2 separate regions of the Homo sapiens genome follow, and region 2 is linked to region 1. Evidence: promoter capture Hi-C in human tissues and cell types (Jung and others, 2019). All regions are on one chromosome and are shown on one strand. Each heading gives the region's core, a stretch centred on a gene start or on the middle of the fragment in contact. The rest is flanking DNA. Distances are from core to core; before and after follow the strand shown. Region 1 holds the start of FKBP10 (FKBP prolyl isomerase 10). Region 2 overlaps RAB5C (RAB5C, member RAS oncogene family).

What was found. Contacts are between HindIII fragments. The study calls those that stand out against the background at their distance.
Region 2: a contact is called between a fragment that was not itself captured here and the fragment with the promoter of FKBP10 in region 1, in 1 of the 25 tissues and cell types used here (pancreas).

What each region holds. Positions count from the first base shown.
Region 1 is chr17:41,811,388-41,815,081 of GRCh38, forward strand. It overlaps FKBP10 (FKBP prolyl isomerase 10), which reads left to right and starts at 1,617. Exons shown (of 10, transcript NM_021939.4): 1 at 1,617-1,892. The coding sequence starts at 1,648. P3H4 (prolyl 3-hydroxylase family member 4 (inactive)) reads right to left here and starts at 562. Exons shown (of 8, transcript NM_006455.3): 1 at 67-562. The coding sequence starts at 528. RefSeq lists a silencer at 192-681 and enhancers at 822-931, 3,418-3,694. The HindIII fragment of the contact is 16,914 bases long and covers 1-3,694 here.
Region 2 is chr17:42,130,788-42,134,481 of GRCh38, forward strand. The region is part of intron 1 of RAB5C (RAB5C, member RAS oncogene family); the gene reads right to left. Among named protein-coding and RNA genes, the nearest start is that of HSPB9, 9.8 kb to the left of the region's middle. RefSeq lists enhancers at 2,466-2,515, 3,086-3,135. The HindIII fragment of the contact is 4,681 bases long and covers 1-3,694 here.

The DNA.
Region 1 (3,694 bases), core at 367-2,866:
GACCGATCTGTGGGGAGCCACGACGCCCAGCCCGAGACAGGTCCCCGGGTGGGGGCGGGCTCCCACCTTGAACAGCGCGTAGTGCAGGTACTGGTAGGGCAGGCGGCTCTGGAAGTCACGCAGCAGCTGCCGCGGCGGGTAGGGCACCTGGAAGGCGGGCAGCGTCCGCTTGCAGCGCCGCAGGCAGGCGGCTCGCTCCAGGACGCGGCCGAAGAGCCGCAGCTCGCAGGCCCACTCGTCTGCGCGGCCGCCGTCGGGATCGGGCTTGGCCGCGGGCGCGGGGCCGCTGCAGTTGGCGTGGCAGAAGGCCTCGCTGTCGCGCAGGAGCCGGTGCAGCCGCAGCGCCGCCTCCAGGTAGCGCGCGCTCTCGCGCCAGCTCTCTCCCTCGTACTGCTCCAGAGCGTGCCCGTACGCCGCGGCCAGCGGCATCAGGTCCTCGGGCGGGAAGCCCCGGAAGCTGTACTTCTCGTACTGCGCCCCGGCGCTGCCCAGCAGCAACCACAGCAGCCCCCACGCCACCCGAGCCATGCCCGCCGCGCCGCCGGCTCTCCGGAGCTGAGCTGGCTGCCCCGCGGACGGAAGGGGACAGGGCCGGGCCCCGGGCGGGCGGCGCGCCCGCTGGGTCTTAGCGCCGGGCACGAGGCGGCAAGGTGGGGCGGGGCCTGGGTCACGACGTCTCCCCTCTTTTCCCAGAGGGTCCGATAGTGTCGTTAAGTCCTCTCCGTCGGCCCGGGCTCCTGCCTTGGGGGTGTCCCCTAGGTAGAGAATGCGTCGGGGAGCGCTTCCCGCCAGAGATGGGAAGCCCAGGAAGCCCCTCCCCATGCAAACAGTGCCCCCGCCTGAGATCAGGACACTGAGTGAGGGCCGCCTCCTCTGCGCTGCCCATACGAGAAGGAAGCCCTGGAGCCGGGCCTTCCGTCGCTGCGCCCTCCTGCACCCTCCGAGTGTCTCCCCCGCCCACGTCGGAGGCACACACCTGCTGTCACCTGCACACCTTGCGCTGCCACCACCCCCCACTCCATCTCCGTGCCCGTCACATCCCAAGTCACAAAGTCCTTCTTTCAGTCCAGCTTTTGCGGGACCAAGCTGCTCTTCCCTGGAGATGCCTTCCCTTGGAGTACAGCTGGGGTCACGGATGAGCACGGAGATGCCTCTCACACTCCGCGGCTTCACCACCCACCTGGAGGGGACTAGAATTCGAAGTGCCCGCGAAAGAAGCAAGGTTCATCTCCGCCCGGCTTTAGGACCCGGGGGCTCCGGAAAAAGTCATTGAACTTTTTTTTTTTTTTTTCCTTTGGTGTCCACTCAGAGTTCTCATCTTTCCCGAGCCTCTCTCCCTGGCCAGGCCCCAGGTCTCGCAGCCAGGGATGGAGATGGGGGGAGGGGGAACCTAGAGTTCTTTGTAGTGCCTCCCTCAGACTCTAACACACTCAGCCTGGCCCCCTCCTCCTATTGCAACCCCCTCCCCCGCTCCTCCCGGCCAGGCCAGCTCAGTCTTCCCAGCCCCCATTCCACGTGGACCAGCCAGGGCGGGGGTAGGGAAAGAGGACAGGAAGAGGGGGAGCCAGTTCTGGGAGGCGGGGGGAAGGAGGTTGGTGGCGACTCCCTCGCTCGCCCTCACTGCCGGCGGTCCCAACTCCAGGCACCATGTTCCCCGCGGGCCCCCCCAGCCACAGCCTCCTCCGGCTCCCCCTGCTGCAGTTGCTGCTACTGGTGGTGCAGGCCGTGGGGAGGGGGCTGGGCCGCGCCAGCCCGGCCGGGGGCCCCCTGGAAGATGTGGTCATCGAGAGGTACCACATCCCCAGGGCCTGTCCCCGGGAAGTGCAGATGGGGGATTTTGTGCGCTACCACTACAACGGCACTTTTGAAGATGGCAAGAAGTTTGATTCAAGGTAACCCCGGTTGGGCGCCCCCGGATTCACCACTCCGTCCCCTGAACCCGGGGTCCTGTTTCCTTGTTGCCTCTTTTAAGCTCTGCATCCCAATACTCTAACCCTAGACAGCACCCCTGGGGCCTCCCAGACACCCATCTCCCCAAAGATACCCTCCTGCCCCCACTTCCAAACCCTCACTTCTCAAAGGATCCCATTTCTTTCTCACAAGCTCTCCACATCCCGGAAAGGACTCGATAATCAAGGTGAACTGCCTTGTGTAGTTACCAGGGCTGTATGTAATGACCTGATGGAGAGGGGTGTTCTGATCTACAGTGTTGGGGGGAAGGGGGTGGTCCCTGCTGCTTAAGAACCCTGGGATGGTCTATCAGCCTGGACCCCGTACCTTTCCACCCACCCTGACTCCCCTTCTGGTTCCACTGTTTTCAGTGCCTTTGTGGTCAGAGAAGAGGGAATAGAACTTTTTTTTGGAGGGGGTGGGAGTTTTCAGCGGCTGGTGGGCAGGGAAAAAGGCTGGTGGGTATTATAAGAAGACAGCCGGCTGGACCTGGGGGTAGCGCGTGGCTCCCTGCGGAGGCCCTGTCTACGTGTCACACAGTCGGACATGCCACCCTGGGCTCCTTGGAGGAATTTCATTCCTCCCTCTCTGGTTCTCCTGGAACCCTCATCTCTCTCCATTTTAGGTACACCAGGCCAGAGGCACAGGCCGCCCATTTTTGCCAGCCTTGGGGTTTGTAAGGTGGCCTCCTGGTCTGACCCAGGCCTTTGGTCTGCCCCAGCAAGTCCACTTTTGTTAGCGGGGACAGGGCAGGGCTGTATGCCAGCCTCAGGGGTAAATCTAGGGTCCCAGTTACACACAGACCCCACAGCACACTGAAAGAAGTCAGTGTTTCTTAGACCCTCCTCTGAAACACACAACTCAGCCCACAGGAAATTAGTGGCCATGACTTTAGAGGCAGGCATATATTGGGGTAAGCCTACAAACTCCAAGAGTCCCAAGACCCTGGTTCAAATCCAGGCTATGACCATGGACAGAGAATTTTGTCTCTTTAGGCATCACTTTCCTTATCTGAAAAGTGGAGACAAAAACAGGACCTACTTGCTAAGGCTGATGTTAGGACTCCAAGGACATGGATGAATGAACGTAGGCTTCTCACAGGGCCTGGCAGTCCTCCAGCCAGTTCAGCACACATTAACATTGACCCTGAGGAAAACCATATGACCTGATGCTGTGGAACTTGTAGAAACTTAATGCAGAGCTTAAGCCTTCATAACAACACTGAGAAGGAAACAGTCCAGACTTAAAACCTGTCTGCTTGGTGGGCAAATTCAGATATAGGGTAGTAGCCAGAAGTGCAGCCCTGAGCCCTTGACTGCTAGGAGTGAGGCAGGGGTTGGGATTTAGGGGATGTCATCCCTGATGGGGACTCTGGGAGCCCAGCTCATGAGTGTTGAGCTTGGAAAACTTTTTGTTTTTTAGCTGGAGGCTCACTCTGTCGCCCAGGCTGGAGTGCAGTGGTGCCATCTCAGCTCACTGCAACCTCCTGGGTTCAAGCAATTCTCCTGCTTCAGCCTCCCAAGTAGCTGTGATTACAGGCGCATGCCACCACGCCCAGCTAATTTTTGTTTGTTTGTTTGTTTTTGTTTTTTGAGACACAGTCTCACACTGTTGCCTGGGCTGGAGTGCAATGGAGCAATCTCAACTCACTGCAACCTCCGCCTCTGCCTCCCAGGTTCACGTGATTCTCCTGCCTCAGCCTCCCGAGTAGCTGGGATTACAGGTGCACACCACCACACCCGGC
Region 2 (3,694 bases), core at 789-3,288, 320 kb after region 1:
ATCTGAGCTGTAAAGAGGAGAATGGTCTCCCAACTTCAGGCTCATGGTTCTGAGCAAACACATTGACTTCTGGATCCCAAATATGTACATTCACCTACAAATAAACACACACAGGCGATGAATGAATGTGTGACAGCCTGGTGACAGTTAAGTCAACAGGCTTTTGGGGCAAAATTAAAACAAAACAAAACAAAACAAAAGCTCAGGAAGACACTAGGATTTAGATCAATAATGAAGTTCCAGTCTGGTAGCCAGGACCACAGTGGTGAGGCAGACAGGGGCCCAAGAGGTCCTGGTAGAAAGCTCCTCAGAGAAGGTGCTTGGCCAACCTCATGGCCATTCAGGGACCAGGGCCTGGCCAGCACAAGTTGTTATTAACATAGCCATTTTTCTCCTGCCACCTTCAGAAGGACTGACCGACTTTCAGTCTAGGGCTGGACTGTGTGCCTCTGTGCACCAGAATCAAAGCAATGTTTCACTCTCTCATCCTGATCCTTCTTCCCTAGTTCTCTCATTTTTGATGGGCCAAAGTCTCGCACCCATTAAAAAACAAAACACACACAGAAACAAACACATAGTAAAACACACACCGATACACACACACAAACACACACAGAAACACACACACCGGAACAAATACACACTGAAACACACACACACACACACAAAAACACATGCCAACACACACACAGAAATACACACCAAAACAGACACCAAAACAAAACACACACCGAAACAAACACACACAGAAACACACACCAAAGTCATAGCTCTGCCACAGTCAGCACAGCTACCAACTTTCCCTTTTTCAATAGAGACCTCAGTTCCATTCTCTACTGGCAGAGATGGGGCGATGGAGAGAAAGAAGAGGCAGGAGGTGTGGGAGGGCAGAGACCAAGTCCTGCATCCCCAACAGCTGGTGTTCCAGTCCCGACATCTGAATCACTTGGTTAGTGACAGCTTCAGAGGCTCAACTTTTTGTTTTTGTTAAGTTTTGGAATTGCAGACACATGAGGAGCCTATCTCTAGAAGCCTCTAGAAGACATAAGTGGATGTCTCATCAGACATATACATCTGATGTCAACAGACATCAGAATATATACAGAATGTTTTACAAACAGGTCCTGTGAGTAGGTATTAAGTACTGAACACTGTTCAGCATTTGAACCTGGGTTGGAAAGAAAAGGTTTTTATTAGGCTGCCCTTTGCATAATGGAGTCTAAGATCCCAGGGAGAGCCCCGATCTGCCCCTGAGCAAGGGAAGTACATTCCCTCATGGTTAAGGGACAGCAATGTGGATGAACAGGAGGTATCTGTGGGAAGCAAATGGTCCACATTCATGCAAGAAGCTGACAGCAAAGGGCTTGTTTTGTTCAACCTCAAATCGTTTTCCACATCCAAGTTCTCCCAGCAACTCATTTAAAAAGTGAGCTTCAGGAAGAATGATTCACTAGCCAGAAACAACAGTTTCCTTTCTGGAGAGAACCAAAGGAAAAGAGGTTTGAAATGGGGCCCACCTCTTCCCCAAAAGTACAAGGAAGGAAGTACGGGGTGGTGGGTCTCAATTAGCAACCAGAAATACCATGTAAATATTTCAAAGTTATGTCATTTCAATTTTTCATAGTTTAAGACGCTTTCTCATTTCACCTCAGTCAATGAAGAGACAAGGTCTGTGCTTTCTGCTTCTTAGAGATGCCTTCCTCACAGTGCCTATGTGCATACTAGGAACTCAAAGAGTGCTGATGGAAGGAAATAATTTTTTTTTTTAAAGAAACAAGGTCTCACTGTGTTGCCCAGGCTAGAGTGCAGCGGTGTGATCACAGCTCACTGCAGCTTCCAAGATCCTACTGCCTCAGCCTCCAGCAGGTATACACCACCACACCCAGCTAATTAAAATTTTCTTTCTTTCTTTCTTTCTTTTTTTTTTGCAGAGATGGAGTCTCACTGTGTTGCCCAGGCTGGTCTCCAACTCCTGGCCTCAAGCAACCCTCCCGCCTCAGCTTCCCAATTGCACAACTATTATCTCCTTCAAGCTTTACGACAACCTCCATTTTTCAGATAGATAATTTAACATTCATATATTAAATGTCCTGCTCATGGTCACCCAGCCTACAGGTGACAGAACCCCCCAGACCCACCATAGACATGATGCCATCCTCCCTGCTGTGGAAGAACAATGGAGGCAGTGCCTGCCCTATGTTTGGTTTAGGGCTGCTAGGTGAATGAAACTCTCTTTTTTTGTGGCAGCAACTTTGCTGGTCCAGGAAGGTCTAGCTCTAGCTGGCTCTAGCAACAGTCACAGTAATCTTGCAGTTTCTGAGTGCCCTCAACAGTGGGAGGAGCCGCCCAGAGCCAGGCAGGGCGACAGCAACAGAGGGAAAACCACAGTGGAATTACAAGTTGGTTATTACCATGAATCCACGTGACACAGAGTCTTGGCTGAGCAATGGTCTGTGGCTGGGGCACTGGAGGAGGAGGTATGAATGGACTGGGAGATGGTAATAGAAAACCAAGTCTCTGATTCCAAAAAAACCAAAGCAGCTGGTGCTTAGGGTACCGAGCTGGGAAGTAACCAGCACCTACAGGTCGAGAAAAATACAGGTAACAGATCTAAGTCTTGTCACTACCAAACCACAGGGTTAGAGGAACAGAATGTGATTTTTAAAAACAAGCCAGAAGGGGAGACAAATAACTCTCCTGCAGTGGTTCTCAACGGTGTCTGTACATTGAAGTCATCTGTGCAGCCAGCCCCTCGAGATTCTCATGAAGGTTTGGCACAGAGCCCAGCATCTGCAGGTGAAGCACACCCACTGAAGCACAGCCAGGGCTAGAGCATCTGGCAGAGAGAGAGTGAGCACAGGCACTGGCTTTCGGCACCACAGATGTGACTGTCTCCTGCCACTTCTGAATCACTTTGTAGAAGCCACCTGAGCTGAGCCTCAGTGTTCTCATCACTAATATGGGGCACACCAGGGTTAATGGCAGTGTTTGCCAGCTGTCTCACACACATCATGTTGAGTAAACAGTAGCTAAGAGTACTGACAGGGTTATTTGTAACACTTTCTCCAAGACTGTTGGTGAACAGACTCTGGCCATCCCAATGAACTGAGACAGGCTCTCCCTGGCATGAACTAGCTGGTGACATGTTCTGCCTGGTCACTGATCCTGCCTTCCAGAGATACCTGAGCAGGCACACCCAGCACTTTTTACGGTCTGTTGCCTAGTGGTTTGCCTGGCCCTGCTTGGTGATCAAATGAGCAGTGGTGTCCAACCTTTGCAGTCAATAAAGCCCAAGGAAGCCAATTTTGCTAGGAAGGGCGCACGGAGATATGAGGGTGTCTAAGCCAGGGGAAGGCCAGACCGAGAGCCCCAGGAAGCATTATACCCTCTCCTCCCAAGCCTGGGAAACTGAAGACATGGCAGGTAGTAAAGGTGAATGCATTCACTGAGCTGTCCTGCCTCCCAGGGATGTGTGTCTTACTGGCAATCTTTCTTTTTGAACCCCTGGCAAAAATTATCCACTTGTGCAGTCAGGTGATGGAATTATAGCCAAAACTGACATAGTTTTCAAAGTCTTCTTTGAGACAAAAATCAAATTCTCCATAAGAGCTAAAGTTACAGTCAAAGTTGATTTTTTTAAATTAGCCAACGTGGTGGTACACGCCTGTAATCCCAGCTACTTGGGAGGCTGAGG